2 separate regions of the Homo sapiens genome follow, and region 2 is linked to region 1. Evidence: promoter capture Hi-C in 16 types of primary human blood cells and fetal thymus (Javierre and others, 2016). All regions are on one chromosome and are shown on one strand. Each heading gives the region's core, a stretch centred on a gene start or on the middle of the fragment in contact. The rest is flanking DNA. Distances are from core to core; before and after follow the strand shown. Region 1 holds the start of LINC02118 (long intergenic non-protein coding RNA 2118). Region 2 has its middle 22 kb from the start of LINC02106.

Region 1 (6,543 bases), core at 2,410-4,909:
AGAAGCATTATAATAATTATCATTGAAACTATATTTTCAACTGGATAAAATAGTTTTACATCTAAGAAGAATAGTTGTGACTCTTACCTCTTAGAAATAGCATCAACATCATTGTGGGTCTGGATGAAGGTTGGAAAGAGAAGAATGTAACTGTTCTTTTCCTAGGACCTATCAATTATTATGTCAATTGACATGATTCGAGCAGAGTTCATTTTTTTCACTCTAAAGCACAAAACAATACTAGGAATGGTAAAGGATGTCATAATTTTTAAACTAAGAACCTATAATACACTCTAAATGCAACAAAGAGGTCCCTAAACTCACTTCTACCTTAAGCCACTTTTTCTGAGCAACAAAATGTCTTGGCAATCAAATAATTCATTGAAACAGTAACAGCAGTCTAGTCAGATGAGGTTTCTTTGTTTAACCCAATTTTGCAGGATGAAACTGTTTAGACGTGGACTTAGTGACTTCATTTGAACCTTTGTAGGCACATGCCTTGTTGAATTGGATGGTAAGAGGAGATTCATATGCACCAAAGCCCATATTCACACTCTTATTTCAATATTTTTTAACTGGAATTTAATTTTAAACTTGAATAGAAATCTGAGAAAATTAACATGTGGTCAAGGTTTTAGGTGAACATAAAATTACCTAACTTGATGAGGACAGTGTACAAATTCTTGATAATCAGCAAATGTTAAGCAGAAAATTTGAGCACTGTTTTGGGTATTTTTTATCTCGTTCTTGCATTTCAACACCAAATTCCTTTAACATTTTTTTCACAAATCATGGAAGGAAAAGGAAATAATAATAATGATGGCAATGATCTATTTTGACCATCTTATTATTTTCACCTTATTCATCTGGGAGCTACAGTGCAGTCTTAACCATCCCATAAATACTGATCTAGCCAAAGGAAACAGACTGTATTTTCCCTCGACTCTTTGCACTGATATATTGAAATAGCAGGGAAGAAAAAAAAAGGCCCATAATGCTTCATTAGTTAATTGTGCAGAGCACAGCTCTTTAGGGGTAAACAAGTGAAGGACATTTGCTGAATGGCCCATCCTCGTCATGCATATTATGGCCTAATGATGCTAGTAATGGTAGGAGGCTCCTGGAGAGTCATCTGTCAAATTAGCACATTGAATTATTTATTGCCTCAGAGTAAAATTGTTGAAAGGTAGCAGCTGAGACATGGTTTTTATAAATCTAAAATTCAGAAAAAAATACTAAAAAACTCATACAGCTGCTTTGAGGGTATATTCGTTTTTTAACACTTGCATTTATGAACACAATAGTCTTTACTGAGTAAATAGACTGAGTTTGTTTCTACCTTTAAGTCTGATTTGTTGTGTGTTTGTGTGTGTGTATGAAGTCCTGAGTATTTTATGTCATTAGTGATAGTGTAATAACCTAAAATTCAGGTTAATTGTTAAGTCTTCATAACTCATTTCATCTATATCACCAATGATAACCATAAGACAAAATGCCAATTTTTACTAGGCTGTGCGCCCAGAAACTAACATGGAGAGTATTGTTCTTGACTTCCATGTCTCAATTGTTCATATTTTTGTTCTACCACAGTGTTGTCTAAGACAGAAAATCTGCCTTCCTAAGACTTAGGGGAAAAGGCAAACCTATGCTAAACTCTTAAAAAAAAAAAAACAGTAAATATAAGAAACATAAACTAAGAGGACTCTAAACATTACAAAGCCTAATACAGTCAAGGTCTTTCAAAACATATTAATTATTTGTTCAGTATTTACTTAGTGGATACCGACAGAAAGTGTTTTTTCTATTCATACATATTATGTACAGAAATAAATTCACTTACTAATTTCTTCCACTGGCCAATGAAGAGTCACTGTTCTGAAAGAAATTAAAAAAAAAAAAAAAAACAATTAACCAATTCTATGTGGTCCCTATTACCTCTTTATTTCTTTTCTTTTTTCTTTTTTTTTAAATTCCTGCTCTAAACAGATAACTAACTTGGGAAGACTTAACATTTTGATTATAAAATAGATCACTAATTTCAAATAAGCAGGGTTACACTATGTATTATTTGGCCTCAAAGTAGCAATGTAATGAATTTCTTAATAACATTAAATTTAAATCACTATGAGTAATTGAGAACATATATGTGTGTGTATATGTATCCATTTGGTCAGAAACAACTCCAGTTAATTCTAGTAATGTTCTGAGTGGTAGAAGAAACTGGCATCTGGCAACTTCTGGGTGGCTGGCCTGCTACTGGGAAATGATCATAGAGAAAATAGCATCAAATCAGGGTCTTGAAATATGAATGGGCTTTCAATACCCAGGGAGAAAGACAAAACCAGTTATCTTGGAGAAAAAACAGGTTGGAACAGGATATTGGGAAGATATAAAGAAAATTAATCTAAAAACCAAGTTGTATAAGATCATGGAAGGTCTTGACATGTTAAGAAGCATATAATTTAAGGGAAAAAATTCAAACAGATATAGAGAGATAGATTCAGCAGAAGAATCTTTAGAAAAAGTTTAAATAATGTTGGATAAATTCTAAAATAATATATATATTCTAGTTTTCATCATTATCACTACCATAAATATGGTATGTGGTTTTCCACATGGGAAAGGTGAAGAGAGAGAAAGAGGAAAAGTAGAAGTACTAAATTAAGTGGCCACTGTCCTGGGAGAATTGTGATGCTAATTATCAAGTAAAAGAATCAGGGAGAGAGGGTCAAATTTAATAATGAAGACAACAAAATTTCATTATTGACATTTGGAGTTGAAGATTTTGGTGAGGCATTTAAACCAAAACGTCCAGAAAGTTGTTGAAAAGTGAAAGTGTAGCTCAAAGAGAAGTGAGTTAAAAATTTACAGCTGATAAATGGAAATTTCTTTCACGTGGATAGAAAGTCATGCGAATAGCTAAATTGTTTATTTGGTGTGGTTTGGCCAATGCAAATGTTGTCTGCCTGCATATTTTACTTTCTTTTGATAATATGGGCATCGTGTTGAACAATTACTGTTTTTATTACCCCATCAATTTTCTCATCAAGATCTGATTTTTCTTATCGCTATTGCTATTTTAATTCTTTTCATCTCAGCTCTTCTTTCTGAAGTTCTTTTGTATTGACCTTCCTTTTCATCTTTATTAATTTTGTATTTTTCTTTTAAACTCTTTACTGAAATGAAAAATGTTTACTCTATATTTCAAGAGCTTCAGTGTTTCATAGATACTCTCTAACTTAATAGAAGTAAAAAGTATGGGGAAATTGTTATTCTCAGCTTGTAGCAGTTGAAGCAGACCTGCTGATGACCCAGGTCTATGCAATTCCAAAGTTTTGATTTGGCTTTTTTGTTCTTTCTATATCACATTGCCTCCTCCATAGACACTATCTCAGCTTTTTACCTTCATTTCCAATAGCTATCCTTAATCCCTTACTCCTATCCCATTTTCTCTTATCAGTCACCTCTCTTATTATGGATCTACTCCTCCAGTTGGCACTCTTCCTCATGCTGCTGTTCTGTGTCTTTAAATCCTCTTCTCACCTTTCCGTATGCTCATCTGCTCAAACCATTAAGTTTTATCAACCCAATAACATTTATAACAACTTTACCTTTAAAATTGATGATGGAGTTGTAAGTGGTCTCAAATTCACCCTTCATTCAATACTCAAAAGATGGCATTGAAATCCCTTGCTATGTTACAAAAGTCCACACTGTGACAACAGAATGGAAAAGTATAATTTTGGCTGTATGCCATTTGCCTAGACGAATCACCAACAGTTTTGCTGCTTATATGAATACATTTTAAATTGTAGTATTATTTTTCTTGTTCACAAACTTGTAATATGTGGTCAAAAACATATTTCAAAGGTGAACACTTTTTAGACAGTAAAACTGCTCCAAGCATTCAAATTTTTTAAATATCATGCTACTTTTTTTTCTTTTAGAGTGGTTATCTATTAGGTAATAGCTGGGTTTGATTGCGGCAGGATATCAACTGATGCCTACCTGGCAATTAAGAAAACCAGAACTTCGTCTATCATACCCCCAAAGAACTGTAGGATTGATACCTGGAACAGGGAGGATTAGCAGCTGACGGTTGGAGCAGGTCATATTGAGCTTACTTCAGAGGAAGAATACACTAATTTCATATCTAGGAGTTTGCGTTGAAATAAATGTGGGAAGGTATGTTATTTTAAAGGAGCCATATTTACATCGACCATAAAACCTGAGGGAATGCTGCTGGTATTCCAGTAGGTGGCAATCTTCCCCCAGAATATGCAGCTAACCAAGGTCCTAGTGCAGGTTTGGGATGTGCAGCTTGTCTAAATTAACACCAAGGATTCTGTCTCTAAAAGTTCAAAACTTCAACAAAAGAACAAACCTCTTTGTATATTAGAATACTTTCCATGCTCTTAGTAAACCAAATCTTAGTGGATTTACCTTGCATCACCAAACTAAATCAGGCATTCTTTGGGCCTTATCTTTCCTTTTCATGAGTTATATATGTACAGCGATATAAGTATACCATCTCCACTATCCTTCTCAAATTATTCGTGTATATTAGAAACTGCTCTTTGCCAAACATCAATTTATAACACTATCAAGACAGTTAATGAGAACCTGTAAAATGTTATCACCCTTGCAATATGTTTAAGGCAGAAAATTTAAATGATTCTGTGGACTACATGTGACTCTCCGCTATATCTATCCCATCAATTAAGGAATTGTAAGTTGAAGGTTTTGTAAAGGCTTTTGCAAAATAACAAGTGTTTCTCAGTGCAAAGTTTGAAAAATAGATTTTATGGGGAAATGCAAAGCAATCAGAATGCCTTATCTGTGGAGAGAAAGTTTATAGGAATATTTGCTATGCTGTGATACTAGATTTTTGTTGTAAAATCTTCTAAGTGATGTGTAATATAATGGTTACTGCTGTCATTCTGGGATTTTAATGTCATTCTTCCAAACAACCACAGCATAGGCTAGGTGCAGTCTTTGGTCTTCTCATGTTTTTTTGTTTGTTTTGTTTTTAAATAAATCTATTATTTTATTTTAAGTAATTATTTTCTAATTTGGCATATAGTCTCATAAATATGGACTAATATGGTAGCATTACTACTGTTAGGTAATATTAGGTTCTTCTTAACTTCTGAGTAAAAGAGAAATGTGTGTTTCCCTGTTCCCTTGATGTCATATGTGTGTGTGACTTACTTTAGCAAAGAAACAAGTGTGAGAGTGATCTATGTCACTTCCAAGCAGAAACATGGAATTGTCAAAATGATAGTTTCCAAACTGTGGCTTCTTCATCAGCCTCAATCATTTGGTGAAGTCAAAGTGGAAGAAAATCCCTAGTTTACCAGAACAGATATGTAGCATGGTCCAAAAATAGATCTTTATTGTTTTAGGCCACTGAGATTTTGGACTTGTTTGATAGCTTAATGTAACTTAATCAATCCTAACACTATAAAAAGGAATTAAACTTAGTACTATAAGATAGATGATAAGTACTATTAAGTCATATATTCTGCTCAACTCTCCTCTGTTAGGACAGTAAATAAATGTAATGCATGTATAGACAAAATATACTATGGAAGTATATACCTGGGCACTAAAATTATCTCAAACTAATAAAATGCTTTCCTAATATGGAGCCAGCTTCTACATTCTCCTCCTCTGGGTGAAAGCTGGACTCCTCTATAATTGAGAATCTTCTAGTAAATCATTTTCTAGATCAATATTAGAAAATCAAAGGTTTAACTGAAAGTGTAGACAAGTTAAACTTCAGGACTTTCTTAGGTAAAAAATGATTATAATTGGTATGTAGCTAATACATATGCTTTTCAGATCCCTACCAAGCTGTATCTCAACTGCAAGACTTTTCAGATACTTCAACATTCAACATTCATTGTGAATTTCCAAGAATGAAAGATAACATTACTGGCAAAGTCAGTTTATTATTGACTAATAATAAATTCCAGGAAATGTAATGCCACTCTGTCTTGTGCTTAAACAAAAATATTTCCTCATGTAAAAAACAGTAGTGCATTTAACCATTATAGAGACAATTTCCTTCATAATCATTTCCTTTTAGAAGCATACCTCTGAAGGAATTACAAAAAATTTAGAAATGATTTTCTTATTTTTTAAAATACATATTCATGGTTTATTTCTAAAGATCATAACTCTTACTCACCTGCATTGTGGTATGATTCCTGATTAGAAGGGGTAAAAGAGAGGAGTTGGGGATAGTACCACACCATCTTGGGTACACTTTTGCTGTATGTTGAGTATCTAAATCCCATCCTTCATACATCAGGACATTAATCAAAGGTTTAAACCTACTTTGTTGGTGCATGGCTTCACAGCTCTCATTGATTTCTATATTTGGTTAATAGTTGGTGGTCTAATTTACTCATTTACTCAACAATCCATTATTGCATTCCTAATAAAGACCAGGTTCTGTGTTATGCACCCAAGATACAAAGTTGAAAGTAACATGATCCCTGTTCTGAAAAAGGTCATTATTTATCAGAGAGTAAAAGT
Region 2 (6,514 bases), core at 3,453-5,952, 1.0 Mb after region 1:
ATGGAGAAGAAGTTATCCTAGAGGTAGGAGAAGGCAGTGAAAGTCTGGTGCTACTGAGGCCAAGGGGAGAAAGCATTCAAGGGAGGAGTGGCAAACAGCGTGCAAAGCAGCAGACACCAAGAAAGGTGATGTTCCGGCATCCTCAGGATACAAAGAAAAAGTGGCTTCTTTATTTTTTTCATCAGTTATCCAAACATCTCCACAAGTTCTCACCCTACTGAGAAATGGAGAAACCTAGGCTTTCCAATTAATGACAACACAAGCTCTTCTAGTTTACAGTTTCTTAATACATTTGACAAAAGTCCCTTTCAAATAAAGTCTTTAGTCTTTCAAATTAGTTTCCTCCCCAACTTTATCCTTCCCTAGGATGTGGGAGTGTACACAAGCTTACTGAGTCCTCCTAGTGGAGGGGAAGAAATAACTTAGATCTTTACTCATATACTCTTGTCTCTGCAGTGGGGACCTACTTTATTCTGCACTAGCACTGTTCACTACCAAGCTATGTCTGCTTGCATATGGACCTTTGGCCAAATATAAACATTCACTACTGCTCAGAACCAGCCATGAAAACTGATTCTAGTCACCAAGGAATGTGCCCTCGGTTGCCTGTTCTTGTCCTTAGCGTTCACATGGTCTAGCATTCCAGCTGTACTTGCAGCTCACCAAGGTGGGTTTGGGATTTAGGCATTGGCTGCAATGCATTTGTGGCCACAGCCTCTTCAGAGCCACAGTTTGTCATGGTGCATGAATCTCCTCCAAGGGTTTTGCCTGGAGAAGCACCCAACTCATCTATTACCCTTCTTGTAACGTTCTAAGGATCTTTCATCACTCCTTGGTGGTTTCTGCTATACCCCTCAGCCCTTGATGCCCCTTGTCCCCACCCTTCAGCCCCAGATGTTCCCCATTCCCTCCATACCTAACAACCTTATTCTACCTCTACCTCTTGTCTTTGGTATTTTCCACTTTCTTTTCCTTCCTGAAAAGAGCTTTCCCTTCCTCAGTAGTTATCAAACTTTAGCATACATCGGATAACTGAATAAATTATTAAAGTCCAGATTGCTAGACTAGGGTACATTCTGAGTCTTTGTATTTCTAATAAGCTTCTAGGTGATGGTGTTGCAGGTCCCAAAGCCTCACTTAGTGAATTACTGTTCTGCAGCCTATTGGTGGTGAAAGTGGAAGGAGAAGGGGTTGAATTAAGCCTCAAGGCATCTGTCTAAAATTTGGAAGATTCTCTCTAAACAGTAACATATTATTCACTACAGTATTTTTCTGAGTCCTTCAATTCTGCTTCTTGATATGAAAGCTAAGCGATAACTAGAAATCAGAGATTTACATGTATATGTAAATGGATGCTGAAGATTCAGAATCCAGTGCAGTGAGCTGACTCCAGCGAGCTGAGAAGTGAATGGGAGGTCAGGATGAACAATGTTTGCAAAATCTTGACTGTGAGTGGGAGGATGGGGGAGTGGGCCTTTTCTTCTTCTTTTTCTTTTCTTTTTTTTTGGAGGGAGGGAGAAATAGAGGAGACTTGAGCATGTTAAAATGTCGATACCAATGACTAGTGGAAAAACTTAAGGACACAGAGGAGAGTTTAAAATGAATGATCTAAAGTTCCTAATGAAAGGAAAGGAAATGGAAACCAAATCACAGGAGGGTAACTGCACTGGGAGGAGAGAGACATCCACGGTGACAGAAAGGACAAGTGAGTTTGCATCGGGAGCAAAGAGTTAACAAGTTGAGTGTAGGAGGGGCACAGAGTGGAGTAGGGAGCTTTGACATCTGGACAATATTTGCAGTAGCCATTCTGAAGAATAAGAGTGAACAACTATGCAGGAAGCATGGTGCTGGCACCTGTTCCTGGTGAGGCCTTAGGAAACTTACAATCATGGTGGAAGGCAAATGGGAACTACCATGATATATGGTGAGAAGGAGCAAGAGAGAGCTGGGGAGAGGTGCCATACTCTTTTAGACAACCAGACCCCGCATGAACTCAAAGAAGGAACTCACTTATCACCAAGGGGATGTCACTAAGCGATTTATGTGGGATGTGCCCCCATGAACCAATACTTCCCATTAGGCCCCAGCTCCAACAATGGGGATCACATTCCAACATGAGATCTGCAGAGGACACACATCCAATCTATATCAACAGACTACAGAAGGACAGAAGTGTTGTTAAAGTTCCAGTTGCCATTACTTAATACTTTAATGCTTTTTGTGTCTATTCAAACTTTATTTAATGTCGTATCTATCCTAGACATTCCCTTTTTCTGATAATAGCCCTCCTACCTTTGTCCCTGCAGCCTAGTGCAACGTGATTTCCTGTTCTTGCTCATCTATGAGTTTATTTGCAACTTCAGGTGGGTTTTTCAGTTCTAGCTAACCAATTCTCACATGAAATTCCCTTGTTTTAAATACAGATATTGGTTTCTATTTTCTATCTGGACCCTGACTCACACAGCACCAAGCCCTTTGGTCATGAGATCCACCAGTGGAGGTGGAAAATTGAAATAGCCCCTAAGGTATTGCCATGAAGGAGTGATGGTGAGGCAAAGGGACAAGGGAAGTGATTAATGGCAAGACACTGATTACAGCAACATATCCTGCATTTTCGGTCTAATTCAGTAATACAATACTAACGCTGTGTAGAATAAGAATAGAGTCATTGGCACCAGGAAGCCACACAAAATAAATTCTACTTCATGTCTCAGTGATTTAAAACTCAGATATAAGTGATTTTTTAAACATGTGTAGAAGTGATAGTTGCTTCAGACAGTAGATACAGGGCTTATAGAATTATTTTTACATTGACCAGACTCTGAAACTTATGACACAAAAGGGTTTTCTCAGAACTGCACACACCAATATTCTTGGATTCATGAATGATAAGAAAAAAGCTCATTTTTTTCTCTTATACTTTTAGTAAAGCTGCAAGATTAGGTGACTTATTTTTATCCAACTTAACAACCCTAAAGCAGAAATTAGACATACTACTTTTGTTTTTATAAAGTATTAGGAATGTCTGGGACAATGACAACTCTAAACCTCATCACCATTTCTTTTGGCTTCTATTTTTTGTGTGATTCTGTTTGCGTGTGTGTGTGTGTGTGTGTGTGCATTTGTGTGTGATATTGCAGCTTTTTGGGCCAGTATGTTGAGTAATGAGTGAGGTAAGGTAGTATGTGTGAGATGATGAGACCAACATAATCTAGTTGGTTGTAAAATATGTAATCAGTTCAAACTGATAATATATACATATGAATGCATGCACATGAATTATCACATACATTTTGAGGGAGAAAGAAAAACTCAAAAGGAGCCAAGAAAAATTCTTCACAAGATTGTTTCCAAGAATAACAGTAGAAAAATAACAATGTCACTAGGTATTTAATATACAGCTTTTAAACGTGTAATCTAATGAACAAAAATAGAGGTGATTATTCTACTTTAGCTGTGCTAAAGAATAAGTATTTGCATCAATGTTTTCTGTATTTTTCAGAGAATAATGTAGTTTTAAGGTGCCAAAGCTAATCCTTTCACAAAACTATCTTCCAGGGAAAGGGTCAAACAATTAAATAGAGTCCTAAGTCTAACTCTGTTAGTTGCCTTTAAAGGTACCAGGTACTATTTTTTTTTTAAGTTCAATTGGCCAAAATAATGTATTTAATATAAAGTATATCTCAATAAAATGTATGTTTTTTAAAAAAGCTTTCAACACAAAGGATAAATGCTTGACATGATAGATACACCATTTATACTGATGTGATTATTATCATTGAGTGACTGCATCAAAATACCTCATGGAACCCATAAATATACACACCTACCATGTACTCAAAAAATTAAAAATTAAAAAAAATTAAAAAGCTTTCAAGACAATGAACACCTTAAACAGACTCTGTGCCTTTCAAGCCAGAGACATTTTGAGAGCTGAAGAGTCACTTGCATTTTGTTTTGTATTTATTTTCTACCATAATCCATTTCTGTCCCTTTATCCTATGATATTTATTTTTCCCACAAAAGCACATAGGGAAGTGCACAATGGTAAAATGGGTTCTTTTATTGTTTAATCTCTTTACTTCCTAACTCAACAGATAATTCATCTGTAGTAAAAGTTTACCCTGAGGTTTAAATCCATGGAAGTTACTTACATTTAGAGACACTGCAGGTGCACAACAAAGGCAACTATATCCACTCAGTGTAAACTTAATTCCTAAATGCCCTTTTCTCAGAAAGCAAAACAAAACAATGGTTCATTTCTGGTTAATTGTCGTGACAGAAATTTAACAAAGTGATGGTCTGTCCATGATTGATTATTTAGAATTCTAAATTTAGAAGCTAAGAACTGCAATCAAGTGGAAATCATTAGTAATTGCATGTATATTTGCAATTCATAAATATTTTTTAGTTTCTGAAGTCTTTCACATTGCACTGGGGAACCAGGTGTAGGCTATGTTTTTAGTTGCTTGTCTACAGATAAAGTTCAGAAATGCTATTTAAATAAGAGTTATGGTTGTTCTAGCTTGACTGCCCCTCAGATCCAGCCAGGCTAGCTGTAGGTAGAGTTAGGCAACCCCAGCCCTCACACTGCTCCCCCATCTCCCTTTTTTATGTTTTTAGTGAACAAATTCCTATCATAAAGTATTTGGGACTCAAATAAATGTCCAATCACCTCCTTGGTTTGACTGAAGCCAGGAGTTCATGGGAAAGGACTAAGGTGTGTCTATCATTGAAATCTAGACCCACACAAACATGGCTGAATGGATTTCAGAGAGGAAAACTAAGCCTCTGAGGGGGAAACCCCTGTGAGTAGTGGCAGATGGGAGCTAGACTCAGCAGGTGGGCCTGGTTGCTTGTAGAAAGGCTTTCAGGCAGTCCCTGACCACCCCGGACCCCATCTTTTTGGAGAGCCTGACACTCTGAGGAAGTCAACGGCTATGCCAAAAAGAGCCAGAATTCATCCCTAGAGGTCAATGAAGCGCTACTCTTCATCACCCCCTTTCTCCTGCCTCTCCCATCCGAAACAGAAAAAGATTTGTGCTAGTGGCCAGAAACAGAAAGACAAGCTGCAGAGACCCAGCGGCACATTGTGAAAGCTGAAGGAAGGGAGAGAAAGTACAGAGGCCACGGCCTGAGATCACACCCTGCGTGTTCTGCGCACGATTCGGAGCAAGCAACAGACTGCACAGGGCCCCACAGGCAGTGGAAAAGGCAGGTGCCTGAAAGAAATTAACAATCGGTGCACATGGCCCAAGATCAGCAACACAAAGGTGGGCATGGAATAAAGGAATGTGGCATTTCAGAAAGGGGCCCTGACACTCTGAGAGGGAAAGCCACCGTGCTAATCACCCAACCACAGGATTACACATACGCAGCCCTCACAACTGAGGGCATCTCAGAAACATTTGGGGAGAGAACCGCCTAGAAGATGTTGGATTTTCTTCCACTGATTAGATAGCGTTTCTGAGCAGAGCGATCAGTGTATTACTGAAAATGCCATCTACATTGTTCCTGTTGGTTCCTGAAGCTTGAAGCATGACAAATATGTATCTAGATAAAAACGATTGCATGCTAGTGTATCAAACAAACGATCTCAAGAGTCAGTTCATTGTTCTTTCTTGCTGTGGCCATGAGCTAAAATTAAATACAAATGTGATACTAATTTTATCACGTATTAGTTTTCTGTTTCTGTGTAAGAAGATCCTACAAACTTAGCAGCTTACAGCAACATCCATTTATTAGCTCATAGTTTTGTAGGACAGAAGTGACTGAGTTCTCTGCTCAGGGTACTGCAAGGGCTGAAGATAAGGTCTTGGTCAGCCCGGCTGTTCTCATCTGATGGCTTCAGCAAAACGTACATATCCATGCTCATTTTTGTGGTTGACAGAATTAAGTTCGTTGCAATTGTAGGACTGAGATCCCTGTTTCTTTGATGGCTGCCAAGCAGGGGCTATTCTGGACACCTAGATGCAGTCCTTGCCATGTGGCCACCCCCATCGTCAAGCCAGAAATGCTTTGGTTTCATGCTTCAAATCTCTGACGTCTCTAATCTTTGAACTCTAAATCCAGATTTAAAGAGATCATGTGATTAGGTCAGGCCCACCTGGGTAATCCCCTTATCTTAAGGTAAACTTATTTGGGACCTAGATTATATCTGCAAATCCCCTCATAGTAGTACATAGATTGGTGTTGGAATAACTGAGAAAAGGTGTGTGTGTATGTGTATGCACCAGGGGCCAGGAATCTTGGGGACTGTAGTAGAGTTCTGCCTATGGCATATTGATTACCCTTTCACCTCATTTCACCACAAAATGCAACTCTTTTACCTAAAATCCCATATAATCAAGTTCATAACTAACTCATAGCTAGGACAGAAAAGTGGTCTTGAAAACTAAAATTAGACCAAAACTAATTTTTCCTATAGCTCACTCATTTACTTATTGAATTATATTTATATAAATCACATCTACTGTAATTATATCTAATGAGAAAAGAATACCGGTGTTATATG

Evidence for each region. Contacts are between HindIII fragments. The CHiCAGO score rates a contact against its expected background, and 5 or more counts as called.
Region 2: a contact is called between a fragment that was not itself captured here and the fragment with the promoter of LINC02118 in region 1, in 4 of 17 cell types (M2 macrophages, erythroblasts, M0 macrophages and 1 more). The highest score is 6.7, in M2 macrophages.

What each region holds. Positions count from the first base shown.
Region 1 is chr5:52,005,147-52,011,689 of GRCh38, reverse strand. It overlaps LINC02118 (long intergenic non-protein coding RNA 2118), which reads right to left and starts at 3,659. Exons shown (of 4, transcript NR_147166.1): 1 at 3,612-3,659; 2 at 1,841-1,875; 3 at 88-119. The HindIII fragment of the contact is 14,911 bases long and covers 1-6,543 here.
Region 2 is chr5:50,989,322-50,995,835 of GRCh38, reverse strand. No RefSeq gene overlaps it. Among named protein-coding and RNA genes, the nearest start is that of LINC02106, 22 kb to the right of the region's middle. The HindIII fragment of the contact is 1,660 bases long and covers 3,873-5,532 here.